Regions from separate parts of the Homo sapiens genome. Here regions 1 and 3 are each linked to region 2. The links are contacts of gene promoters, found by promoter capture Hi-C in blood cells and fetal thymus (Javierre and others, 2016). All regions are on one chromosome and are shown on one strand. Each heading gives the region's core, a stretch centred on a gene start or on the middle of the fragment in contact. The rest is flanking DNA. Distances are from core to core; before and after follow the strand shown. Region 1 overlaps SESTD1 (SEC14 and spectrin domain containing 1). Region 2 holds the start of CCDC141 (coiled-coil domain containing 141). Region 3 overlaps CCDC141 (coiled-coil domain containing 141).

Region 1 (4,291 bases), core at 1,779-4,278, 80 kb before region 2:
AGTGGGGCCTTTTGTGGGTCTGAATGTTGGTTGATCCTAAGAAGAGTCCAAGAGGGTATTTATTACATTAGCATAATTCTAATTAGTTTTTAATTTTATTTTTGAAGTGATAAAGTGGTATATTAACTTTATAGTAGTTAATTCAGTCAGTTTTTTCAATGCTTGGGAAGAACATTAGACTATGAGTTAGAACATATGGCTGTTAGTCCAGTTTTTCAATAATGGATTATGTTATCTTGGGCAAGTCACTTAATCTGTTTGAAACTCAGTTTTCTTAAATGTTAGTTAAGAACTTTGACTGATATCATTTCTGATGTTTCTTCCAACTCTAAATCTTATGATTCTCTGATTCTCTTTTCGTAAGTTAATTTTTAATCCTCTTTTATAGAAGCATTCCAGATTTCTTTTAGCCTGAAAGATAATCAGATAGCTGAAAGCTTGTGATGCTACAGTGTACATTCTTCCACATTTAAGTTTTGAAAATGTTGTCACATTATAGCTGTGTAGTTCCAAAAGAAACATTTACTGCCTATGTGATAGAATGTAAATAATTTACATTAAAAATAATTGGGGAACTTTGGGAGGGGAAAAATAAGTTAGAATGAAAGTTTGAAAAGTTTCTGATTCTTTAAAAAATGTTATCTCAACTTTTGTTTATAGGTGGTGAACTGGCTAGAAGGGCCTGGATCAGAACAACTAAGAGCCCAGTGGGGCATTGGAGACTCCATTAGGGCCTCCCAGGCCCTACAGCAGAAACACGAAGAGATTGAGAGCCAGCACAGTGTGAGAGGCTTTTTCCTCTGCAAGTTACAATGATATTATGAACGTGGGTAATTAGTAGCATATGTGGTACTGAGTGATAAGTTGCTGCAAACTTTGGTATGGGGCATGAAGTACAGTTTGTTAAGTGCCTAGAGGTCATAAAGTACATTTTGATTACTTAGTACATGTTAATTAGAAGGTTGTTTTTGGTTTTGTCTCTAATGCAGTTTAATTATATTTTTATAGAAGCACAATTTGCATGAAATTTTAAAAGCTACAGTGACAGAAAAAAGAGTGATAATACAAAAATAGAGCTTTCATCTGTAGTCTCTGTGACAGAAACTTCTGTTTTCAAGTCCCCCTCACCCCCACTTTATTGGGAGTATATAGTACAATTAAATGCCTGAGAGTGATAGCAGAATTGCTGCATTAAACACAACTGATGGAGAGTAAGTCCAGAGGGTGCAGAATATTTTTCCATTCTCTGAGCATTTAGGGGTCCCTTTTGTATTTGTGAAAGGGGTAATCAGACAAATCACAGGTATAAAATTGGGAAATAAATAGATTCTTAAGCAGATTATAGATAATAATTGTTAAAGATAATTTAAAATTTAACAACTTGTTATGTGAAAGAAGCTGGTGTTCGTTAATCTCCTGCTCTGTTACAGTTAATTCTTCATTACTGAGAAAGAGATCATCCAGTTTGTGGACGGGGTAGCTCACCCCCCTCTCCCTAAGGTCATATTACTTTGGTAATTTAAAATAGATTAAATACAAAATTGGAAAAATAAAATTTGAATCCATTAATTCCCTTCTCCTTAGGTTGTCTTAAAAAAGGTGGTCAAAATGTTAAACTCTGGACCCAGATGAGCATTAAGTACCGTCGGAACATTAATTTCTGCAACGTTTCTTCTTTCCTCTAATTATGTTGGATAGTATTAGGAAATGTCCATTTTTAACTAAACAAGATTAAAGAATAAGTAATATGGTTTGCTTGGGAATAAATTTGAATGAATGAGTAAATCTCATCTTTACTAGAATTTAACAATATCTGATTCTTATTTTTCTTCTAAATGTATTCCATTTTGCTTAGTTTCCTCATATTGCTTTCTTTGTAATGTTCTGTAAATCAGGTATAGCAATTACTGGTATTGGCAGAAAATCTACTACTATACCCTAAAGCAGTTGTAATCTAGCTGAAGGAATAATAAGAGATATTACAAGATTTGGAATTGTCTAAAGGCACTACATATATATTCCTTGCAATTTTTCTAATTAGTACTTGTAAAAAACTTGAAAATGAAATCTCATAATTGAAAATCGATTTATTTTATGCATTTCACAGGTTCCAACATAATGGTTCTTCCTTTTATACTAAAATAATCATATTACAAACCCTGTTCCTGAGGATATAATCTTTTAATTCTCTTGGTACTTTTAAAATAATGTTTTGATTTTTTTTTTAACATGGATTGTGATTTGTTTGAACCTGGTAGACTGTTCTAGAACATGTTACTATAGTTAGAGTCTACAATTTGTTCCTCTCTTTAGTTCCTAAAAAACTGTATTTACTCTAGAACATTCTAGACTTCACCTAAGGGGATTTAGTTATGAAAGTATTCCAAAAGTTCTTTTTAGGAAGGACACATGGCACATGAGGATTCTAAAGACAGGATTTATCTATATTTTATTATTTTTTTTAAATGCCAAGATAAATAATTACAGTTAGAAATTGGATTGTATACATACTGTACTGTACTCTAAGTTTACAAAAAGACTTCAAAAGCAAATTTCATATTGCGTATAGTATGGATGAAATTGCAGATGATGTACATAGAAATTGCTATGTTCAGATGTTGGTTTTGTATTTTTAATATATTTATAAGGTTTTCAAAATCAGCTTAAAGAAACATCGCTTAAGGGTGGCCCTTCCCATGTGCTTAAGCTTACTTATAATGTGGAACCAATATATAAAACTTTTGAATTGCAAAATACCTTATAGATTATTCTAATATCTTCATCTTACTTTATAGATGAAAAAACTGGGAAGCTACGTTTTTTGATCAGTGAATAGTTGGACTATTGTTAAGACACAGATCTCTTGATACCCAGGGGGGATCCTTTCTCTAGCTGTCTCTTAGAGAAAGCTACTAAATTTTACAGATATGGTTAAGCTACAGTAGTTTTTCATTCTTGTACTTTTAATACTTAGGAATGTACATATACATTGACATCTGCATTTATAGACATGACCTAAAGAAACATTGATGGCTATCAAGAGATTTTATTTCCTTAAATCATGTGTGATATTTGGGTTTTGTTTCAGAATTGGGAGGTAGGAACAGATTGAATGGATGGGAGTGTATGTGAAACAGAATTACCCATGAATTGATCATTATTGAAGCTGGATAGGAAGGAGTTCATTACACTATTCTTCCCACTTTTGACATATTTTTAAAAAGCCAGTTGTGCTGTTTTAGCCAATAGGTGGCACTGCATTGTCACCCTGAGAATAGGTTGGTTGATGCTGGATGAATATTTTAGCTTATGATGTTTAAGATATTCTAATATTTTATTAAAAGCTTTCTTTTCTCTCTGTAACTAAGAGTTAACAGATTAAAGCATTATTGGAATTGTTCAAGTCTTGTGAAAGTATGACTAATTTCTGGCATTGACAGCTGTTAACGGTAGAATTTGAGAAAACTTTTAACATACAATCTTGCATTACCAGCTCAATGTCATATATTAAATTTTATGTCATATATTAAATTTTAGAGTCCATATAAAAGCATAATGCAGAAATAAAGCTAAAAACCCCAAATTTGTTAGGATATTAAGTTTTAATACATAGAAAAATGAAATTTCTGCCAACCTGTAGTTCTAGTTCAAGGATTGGTAATTAGAAGTTAACTTGGTTTTTTAATAGAACACAACAAAAAAAATAAGGTACATGAAAATGGTTATAGTAACTGACAATAAATTTAAAAGCAGTTTAGTTCAAAAATCTAATTTTATGTTTTGGGTTGAAGAAAGTGTGTGGTAGGAAAAGCGTGTGTGATAGGAACATCGAGGAGCATAAATATCTGAAACTACTTCAGAATTTTGTCACTATCCCACCATCTCATAGTGCTGAGTTCTGGTCTACAAAGAAACCACTTTCTCTGGTGCATTATGCAGAACAGGTCTACCTGGCGAATCAAGACTCATTTCTCCTAATGTGTAGTCTGAGTATAATCACCTTTTTAACCCGAGTTGGCACTGTTTCCTTCTGCCTACATATGGATTCACATTTCATGGTATAAAGTATAAATATCCATCATTTCACCAAGTATGCGTCACTGCCAACATGATTGCATTGTCAATCCTGACTGCTTGTGTCCTAAATGTGAACCTTCAAGCCCTTTTCTTACCATCTCAATCCAAATCCCATATATTGGTGTTTTTTTATTTTGCTATAAAATAATCATTTTCTACACAGTTAAATATACATAAGAGACAGACCGGAGAATGGCTGTAAGTGAACAAAATA
Region 2 (4,765 bases), core at 1,759-4,258:
TCTACTACTTCTCGGATTATTCAGGCCCCTTCCCTTCCCTAAACATCAAGCTCAGAGATTTGCCCCCACCCAGGACTAGCAAATTAGCTTTACTTAACATGCCCCAAGTCAGGAAACTAAAATACCTCTTGGTCTATGTAGACACTTTCACTTGATAGGAAGATACCTTTCCCACAGGGTCTAAGAAGGCCACCACGGTCATTTCTTCCCTTCTGTCAGACACAATTACTCGGTTTGGCCTTCCCACCTCTACGCAGTCCGATAGTAGACTGGCCTTTATTAGTCAAATCAGCCAAGCAGTTTTTCAGGCTCTTGGTATTCAGTGAAACTTTTATATCCCTTACAGTCCTCAGTCTTCAGGAAAAGTAGAACGGACTAATGGTCTTTTAAAAACACACTTCACTAAGCTCAGCCACCAACTTAAAAAGGACTGGACAATACTTTTACCTCTTTCTTTTCTCAGAATTCAGGCCTGTCCTCGGAATGCTACAAGGTACAGCCCATTTGAGCTCCTGTGTGGACGCTCCTTTTTATTTAGCCCCAGTCTCATTCCAGACACCAGACCAACTTAGATTTTGCCCCCAAAATCTTGTCATCCCTACTATCTTCTGTCTAGTCATACTCCTATTCACCATTCTCAACTACTTATACATGCTCTGCTCTTGTTTACACTGCTGGTTTACATTGTTTCTCCAAGCCATCACAGCTGATATCTCCTGGTGCTATCCCCAAACTGCCACTCTTAACTCTTGAAGTAAATAAATAATCTTTGCCGGCAGGACTATGCTGAATCTCCTTAGGCACTCTCTAATCAGATGTCCTAGGTCCTCCCAATTCTTAGACCTTTAATACCTGTTTTTCTCCCTCTCTTATTCCATTTAGTTTCTCAATTCATATAAAACTGTATCCAGGCCATCACCAATAATTCTAAATGACAAATGTTTCTTCTAACAGTCCCATAATGTCACCCCTTACCACAAAGTCTTCCTTCAGCTTAATCCCTCCCACTCTAAGTTCTCATGACGCCCCTAATCCCGCTCGAAGCAGCCCTGAGAAACATCCCCCATCATCTCTCCATACCATCCCCCAAAATTTTCACCGTCCCAACACTTTACCACTATTTCGTTTTATTTTTCTTATTAATATAAGAAAGGAATGTCAGGCCTCTGAGCCCAAGCTAAGCCATCATATCCCCTGTGACCTGTGTACACATCCAGATGGCCAGTTCCTGCCTTAACTGATGACATTCCACCACAAAAGAAATGAAAATAGCCTGTTCCTGCCTTAACTGATGGCATTATCTTGTGAAATTCCTTCTCCTGGCTCATCCTGGCTCAAAAGCTCCCCTACTGAGCACCTTGTGACCCCCCCACTCCTGCCTGCCAGAGAACAACCCCCCTTTTTCCTTTACTTACCCAAATCCCATAAAACGGCCCCACCCCTATCTCCTTTCGCTGACTCTCTTCTCAGACTCAGCCCACCTGCACCCAGGTGAAATAAACAGCTTTATTGCTCACACAAAGCCTGTTTGGTGGTCTCTTCACACAGATGCAAGTGAAAGAAGGAGCCTGCCTGCAACCTTCCAGGTCAGTTACCTCTTTGCAAGCTCTCCAGCCCTGCCATAAAATGAAACCATTTGCAATAGTTGCTACATCATAGCTTGCTCGGCATCTGCTTTCCTGAGCTCGCTCCAATTGTTCCCTTCATGGGGTCAGGTGAAGTTCGTGTTGCATAGGGACTAGGATCTAGGTATGGTTTCCATCTCACTGGGGCAGCAGGCAGATGCTGAGCGCAGAGGACATGGGTGGTGGCTACACAGCTGCAGAGCAGCCATGACATGCTCTTGGAAACAAAAATAATTGAACACTGAAGTATGTGTAAAAGTACTTTTCCCCTTTGAATCAAGAATATGATCATGAACCTTAGCAAAACAAAGCAATGGAGCTGACTCAGTCTTCTAAACATTGGCCCTGAACCTGAACCTACTATTAAATTGGGCTAAAAGGTTTACAGAGCAAGTGGATTCATTAAAACTGTTTTTTGCTATATTCTCTGTTGTGGCTTTGTCCCAGAGATTTCCAATGCTTCCAGCAGCTTTGGAGTTAGTAACTCTGATATGTTTGCATCTGACTTCTGACCTAAACTTTAGTGTTATTTTCAGCTGTTCTTTGACAGGGAATCCAACAGCTGCTGTTTAATACCACAGACAACTTGTGACACAGGCTGAGTTTCTAGCAATAGGATTAATCTACCAATGTGGGGCACTGATTTGAAGCTGGCTATAATTTTCCTGAACAGGAGGTGGGGGTAGGGAATAAAAAGCCTGAAGCACAGTACTTTCCTTTTTGTTTTTGTTTTTAATTGCAGCAAAATATATGTCTTAATAACTTTTAACCACACAGAAAACATTTTCTTGCTGCAATTAAAAGGTAACAGCAAAGTATTTTGCTTTCTCATGGTATTAATAACTGAACTTGAAAACCTTGTCCAATGGAGCAGAATAGTCACAAAGAAAATCTGAAATGATAGGCACCTATTTATAAATGCTGGTTGAAATATTTTTTAAAAATTCCTAAGAAATCTGAGGCTCTGAGAAAATGTGGCTATTCCATCTAAACTTCATTTAGCAAAGAACAGTAAGTTTTAGAAAAGCAGATTAATCTAAAAATGTGTTTTAAGCAATTTGTGACTTAACCCCAAGACAAATACCAAAACTTTTTTAAAGTACACTTTGGTAGTTCTCTTTGCATCAGAGAGATTTCAAAAATCTTGAAAAGATTGATAACCAGGTCAAAGACTTACTTGTTTCAAAGTCCATGGTTACAATGGCATAGTTTCGGTGGCAAAACTAATTTGGGTTGTCAGGATGTAATTTTTTTTTCCATTTGTTATCAAACATCAGCTGATAAGGAAAGAGCTTGAAGCTGTCCTCCACATTTAAGATAACAGCAAAAATAACAGGCACTTAGTGTCACCATACTAGGGGCGTGGCAATTCTCTCTCGTTCGCTCCTTTCTCTCTCACGATAAACTCAATGGGGTTGTCTATTTTTAACCTCCTGTTCTTTCCTTTTGGCAGAGTAATCAGTGTGAGCTGAGCTCTTTCCCTGAATGAATCCAAGTAACCCTGGCCTTCTGAAATGACCAGCAGACACACAACTGTCCAGAGGCTGCCCAAAGTATAAACTCTGGTTCTAAAGTACCATGTCCAGCCAAGGAAGTCCTAGTGTTGCGCTTTCTACGACGACAGTCAGTTCAGTTGCTGTGCAGGCTGGGGACTCCAAAATCGTTATAGCTGTCATAAAGGTAAGCTAACAACTTCCTTTTTTCTGTGCGGCTGTGGGCTTCTAGCTGTGTGTTGAAAACCCTAAAGAACATTCCATGCAATCGGCAGGACACAGCATAGAGAAGACAACGCAGCAAGCACTCTTACTGCTTTCTAAAATGGGCTACTAAGAGAAACCTCTACAAGTTTCAGCAGTTACCAGAGATTCTCTTTCCTTTCAGTCAGCCAGAAAGCATCTATAGCAGCTTGATTTAAAAAAAAAAAAAAAAAGAAAAGAAAGAAAAATAAAGAAAAGAAAACCTCTAGCATATACTGTCAATTTGGTCTTTAAAAGCAAGGCATTGGTAACTGGAAGTTCATGATTGCCTGACTAAAGAGTCCAATGGACCTGTGGAATGCTTGTGATTTTTGAGAGTGGATGTGATGGAGGTGGGAGGAGGCAGGTCCCGACAGACAGGGGGAGGGCACTGCTTTAAGCACGATGGAACTCAGAAAACACCAAGTAAAGGGCTCCGACATGTGCCCTTTGCCACACTGGTTTTGACATGGTAAAGAAACTACTAAATCCTTGTCCAGTAACGAAGACCATGCAAGGAAAGGTACAAAAGCTTTGTGTCAAATTTGCTCTTAACAGCAGGAAGTAGAAGCCACTTAGGGTTTACAATTACTGCATGTTTTATGACAACCCATTTGCCCATTTGCAAAGATGACCACACATCTTTAGGCTGAAGAAGAACTCCATGATTTTATTCTCCATGGAAATGCCCTGTAAAAAAAAGCTTTCAAGCACTAGGCTTGGGCTTTAGATGATATTCCACCTAAATAATTCAGTGTTTAATGAAGGGAAAGCTGGCAAACAAGCTGATGGTCACAAACCAGTTACTTTCAGGTCCCCACCAGGTTTAATTGAATGACTTTTCTGGCCTTTTGTTAGAGCATGGACAGCAAGCCATGTTTACTTTAACTTAATTGCTGTGAATTTTATGGTAATGTGAAAATTCATACCAGGAAAAGAGCACTTGATACTGAGCAAAACAGTTCACTATAGAAGGACAGAATGGAAAGTATTCCTGCCGAGGTGGATTTTCTGGTGTTGTGAGACTTCTCTCCCACAGGAACCAGGCCTCTGCTGACTTCCTCACCCTCCCATCTTTTCAGAGTCCCAGAGAGGAGATGAAAAGAAGCCTGATGCAGAAGTAGGGCAAACAGATCATTTGCACGGGATTAATGATACTTTGAGTTAACTGCAGATTTCAGCAATGAGGGAAAAGAGGCAAACTCACTATTTTTCAAAAAGTTAACTTTCCATTTCCTCAAATATGAACATTCTTGGAGCAGGATGAGGAATAATATTAGAGGATAAATTACAGAAGAATCAGAGGTAGATTGAACACAAAAAAATTACACTGGAAATTACACTGGAAAATTACACTGGAAACTCTTATTTTAACTGAATTGTGTTTCTAAGAATGTTCCCCCA
Region 3 (4,598 bases), core at 1,165-3,664, 75 kb after region 2:
ATATAGCATTTTATAAGTACTTTCCTAAGGCGTATAGTTGATTTTCCATAGTTTGAACACCTTACAATACAAGAGAAGGAAAAAGTCCTCCTAGACCTAAGAAGGTCATGTCTCCATGTGATTTTTCTCGAATTCTACAATTTTTTGAGGTTTCTAATTTCAAAATATGAGAGTTCAAAGAACATTATCAAAAGAGGTGTTATATTTGGTATAAGACAGTTATTGGAAATTTCACTTTTAACTTCTGTGTCAGGTGGCAGCCCATTCATTTTGATGTAAGAGCACTGCTTCATTATGATAAAGCATTAGCTTTGAAAAATATGACATTTTAAACTAGAAATTCAGGACTTAAATCCAAAATAATGAAGGAAAGAAGATTAGTAATAGAAACTAAAAATTGGAGTAGGCAATCTCATGCATCATGAACTTGTTTAAAAGCAAAAGGGAGGAATAAAAACCTTATTATAACTTTCAAGGCTTGTTTTTCACAATTTGAACACCGAAGTTTAACTCATTTCAGAGACCATCTTGGAAAAAGTTTCATACACCATCTTTCTTCCCTGAAAAGAAATGAAACAGCTGAAATACACCTACAGAGGCCAAATTATAGCTATATCTGATTCACTCTATCTTAGTAAGTAGGGTATAGGTGTCAACTGTCCTTGAAACTCAGCTCTTTTGAGCCCAGGAAATTTTCTTTTTTTCTAGCATTGGAGCAATATTTGTTTCTCACTGTGTTTTAGTGTTAATGTAGCTTATTTTCTCCATGATGAGTAAATTCCTTTCAGATATAACATGAAGTAAAAGGAAATAGTAGGCCAAACCATAATTAAGCCCAACACTCTTATACTTACACTTGCGTGAGCTTTTATTGAATCTAGTGAAAAGACTAATTATTTTTTGTATTATCCTGTTTCCAATTTTGTGGATCACTTCATACTAAACTGAAGACAAACTCCTATATAATCCTTATGTCCCCTTTGTATGCCAAAGCCATTTTTATTAGTGATATAAGAGAGTGGAGAAAGGAAAATACTGATAAAAGTAAACAGAACTTTAGGAAAACTTTTTCTGAGTAAAGCATTGTTTGCTTATTGGTTTATTTATTTTTAATTTTATAACAAGCTGAAATATAAATATAAGTTAAACAGTGACCCTGGAACTTTTTCTAATGTTCTGCAGGTAACAAACAAACTACCTGCTAGGAATTTTCTTTTCTTTTTGAAGATTCTCTTTAAATAATATTTTAAAAATCAGTTATTAGAAATTGAATTAGAGATGTAAATGATGTGGATATGACCCCCTTATTGAATTATGTGCATGTAGGAGTTTTTGAGAAATGAAAAATTACTAATAATTGCATGGCTGATCATTATTACAAGATTATTTCAGGCTCACAGACATAACTGTCAGTTGGGTTATTCTCACCTCGAACACTGTGCTATAATTTAGGAACACTGCCCCTGATTGGCAGCAGCAGATGTCCATCAGGTTGTTCTAATAGGATGACAGAGGCCTTCCTTGCATTTCCAAAACATGTCCCATGCTCTTCAGTCTCTCTCTCATCATTCTGTTTCACTTATAATTGGATTTCATATGGCTGTTGTAATAAACTACAGTCGATTGTGTTAATCAAATAGTTACATTAAAATATTAAGAATCCCCAAATTCAAAAATGATAGTTTGGAGAAGACTTGAAACAGAAGATAAGTACCGTGGTAAGCTTCTATGTCTGATACTTTTCCTTAATTAGTTTATTCTAAACCCAATCCAAAGGTGGATATATTAAAATGCTCATATAAATTGTGATAATTACTGTTGAATCTTAGTGCTAAAACAAGCCAACTATTTGTCTACCACTATAGACATACTGTGACAGGATAATCAAATATATTTTGCCATTCTAAAATTTGTTTCTAAGATTATTTTCCTGAGCATTTTAACATCACGTTAATCATCTCTCTCAATCTCCCACTGCCTCTATGGAGAAAAAGAAAAAAGACAGACCAGTTATATTCCTCACCATTTAGAGTGTGAAATTACTATGCATTTTCCTTGAAACAGGGAATAAATTTCTCACTTGTCATTCTTGCTCCATCTAATCTCATTTTATTTATAGATGTAATGCATACAAATTATTGATAAAAATGCAAACAGAATTACAAATTATAGATTTAAATATTAAAATTTTACCTCCTCTCACTCATCCTTAATTTCATTTCTTCTCATTAAGTCACCATTTGGTGTGTATTTTTTGAGACCAATTTCTATACAAATATATATTTTTTTGCTTTGTATAAAATATTGGATTAGACTATGTATTATTCAGAAACTTGCATATTTCACTGCTAAGTTCAATTTTAGAGGGAAAAAATAACTATACTTCTACCTTCTCTCTAAGTGAGTTCCTAAGCTACATTTACTTGTAAATGTATAGACTGCTTTTTAGTTAACCTTTTCTTGGTTTCCCTTAGCTAACTTTCTGCTTATTCTTAACTAAGTGCCTTAGAATGTTGAAAGTGACTGTATACATAGGACACTATAATTTTGGTTGAAAAATTTAATAGGCATTTGGACAGTAAACAGGTTGGTTTATTTCAGCCTATATAATTAGGTATGAAAGGAGAAGAAAGTTCTTACCAATGACACTTTGTAAATTGACCACATGCAAACACACACCCTCATGCAAACACTGTAAGCCAAAACACACACAAACACATACAAACATATGCACTTGCATAATCACACATCCTCAGTTGGGCTACTAATTTATGAAAAACATCTCCAGGTAACTAACAATGGCACGTTAATTTTTATACAAATGTCAAATGTCTTTCCTCTGTATTTCTATTGTAGTTTGCTATTAAAATAGACCAAGCTGAAGATTTCCTCCAGAATACTCATGAGTTTGAGAGTGCTGAGTCCTTAAAATCACTTCTTCAGCTTCATGAACATCATACTAAAGGCAAGAAATATGTTTATTTCTCACAGAAGTGTTTAGAGGTTTTAAAAGATGTTAATGTGAGAATGCTTATGTATGATAGTGTATTTTAAATTGATCTATTTATGTTTACCTCAGCTTGTTCCAAGAAAAGTTAAAGCTTCATTTTTAATCATCTTCTGAAAGAAAGAACTAGTTGTGAATATTCTGAGAGGATGGTAGAGGATATGCCTCCAGGAGATTCTGTTATTTGGTGTGCTAGAGTTTAGCTCCTGAGGACAGAGGCCATTTCTACCTTGTTCATCCCTTTACCCTTAGCATCTAGCAAGGTTCCTGCCACATGGTAGATCCTAAAGAAATTTTCTTAGTTGAATAAATCATTGAATTCAGTGAATGTTCCTTCTAAGGGTCAATAAATGAAGGTAATTCTTTAAAAAGCAGGTCTGAATCAGCAAAATTCCTCTTTCACCATTGCAGTTAAAAAAATGGAACAGTGAATTTTTCCAGATGAAAATCTAATAAAACACTCTACAAAAAGATTTTCAGTTCCCTCTGAACAACTAGAAAGATAGTCTAGTTGTTAACCAACAATTTGTATGCCAAGCCTTTCTACAAGAATTTGGTGTGGGCCAGGAGTGGAGTAGGGAAACGCATTTGTGGAAAAGTAGTAGTTACCTGTCATCTTTTGCAATGGAAGGAGGTTAGATAAATTGATAGAAACAACCGTTTCTTTTCTGCCTAATATGTCTTCTAATTTTACTGCCAAATAGAATAGGGTCTGGATAGAAAGGTTTCTTGAATTCATTTGTCACAGTTCTAACTTGACTTCTAGCTCCACCAGCCTGTCATTCTGGATAGGACCAAAAGGTGTTTTAAAGTCACAAATAGATTTAGTGTTTATATTACCCTTCAAAAGACTCTAGACAATAGATCATTATGATAAATTACTTATTACAACTTTCTAAAACTCAAAGATTAAAGGACTCAATCTTTCCTATGTAAGATTAAAGGACTCAATCTTTCCTATGTAAATTCTTATGAGATCCTACCAAATACATATATATAATTTCCACTGATTATTGTTCTATAGGACCTATCACTAATAGGGATTATAAAAAGCATCAAAAGTTTGTGCTTTAAAGCAACAGTTGCCCATTATTATACAGCAGTAGTAATCTAGCTAGGTCCAAAGGAAATGAGTAGAATCACGTGAAATTCCTCCTAGGAGACTGGAAGGCAACAGATGGGTTCTGTAGTCTCAATTCAATCTTCTTTCAACCAACATGATCATCACACAGCAGTTTTACCTCCAGAAACCTGACAATGATGGATGCTATTATTGAAGAGTTTCAATACTGAGGCAATCAAATGAAAGCATTCTCCAGAGGGACTGGGGGCTTGTAGAAGTAGGGGCTTTTCCATACATGTTTGGGAATGGAGCTGGCAGGGGGAATGTAGTCTTAATGCTGTTTTGTTGTTGCTACTGCTGTTGGCTCCTTCAAGTTCCTAGGATCTGCGGCACTGTGGGCCAGTTTATATGGGGCACATGCTGCTTTGTTTGCACTTCTTTGGCATCCAGCTGACAGTGAAACTGATGTCTTGCTTTTCAGGGGTACCAGCCTTCAAGAGTCCACTGGGTGTCCTTAGTCTGAAGAGA

Evidence for each region. Contacts are between HindIII fragments. The CHiCAGO score rates a contact against its expected background, and 5 or more counts as called.
Region 1: a fragment that was not itself captured here is called in contact with the fragment with the promoter of CCDC141 in region 2 in 1 of 17 cell types (non-activated CD4 T cells); the score reaches 5.0 in non-activated CD4 T cells.
Region 3: a fragment that was not itself captured here is called in contact with the fragment with the promoter of CCDC141 in region 2 in 3 of 17 cell types (non-activated CD4 T cells, naive CD4 T cells and total CD4 T cells); the score reaches 5.9 in non-activated CD4 T cells.

The regions. Positions count from the first base shown.
Region 1 is chr2:179,128,796-179,133,086 of GRCh38, reverse strand. SESTD1 (SEC14 and spectrin domain containing 1) reads left to right here. Exons shown (of 18, transcript NM_178123.5): 10 at 661-783. Among named protein-coding and RNA genes, the nearest start is that of CCDC141, 81 kb to the right of the region's middle. The HindIII fragment of the contact is 637 bases long and covers 2,710-3,346 here.
Region 2 is chr2:179,048,380-179,053,144 of GRCh38, reverse strand. It overlaps CCDC141 (coiled-coil domain containing 141), which reads left to right and starts at 3,008. Exons shown (of 24, transcript NM_173648.4): 1 at 3,008-3,305. The coding sequence starts at 3,204. RefSeq lists enhancers at 2,932-3,011, 3,022-3,271, 3,462-3,511. The HindIII fragment of the contact is 6,980 bases long and covers 1-3,895 here.
Region 3 is chr2:178,973,424-178,978,021 of GRCh38, reverse strand. CCDC141 (coiled-coil domain containing 141) reads left to right here. Exons shown (of 24, transcript NM_173648.4): 4 at 2,857-2,965. Among named protein-coding and RNA genes, the nearest start is that of CCDC141, 74 kb to the left of the region's middle. The HindIII fragment of the contact is 1,378 bases long and covers 1,726-3,103 here.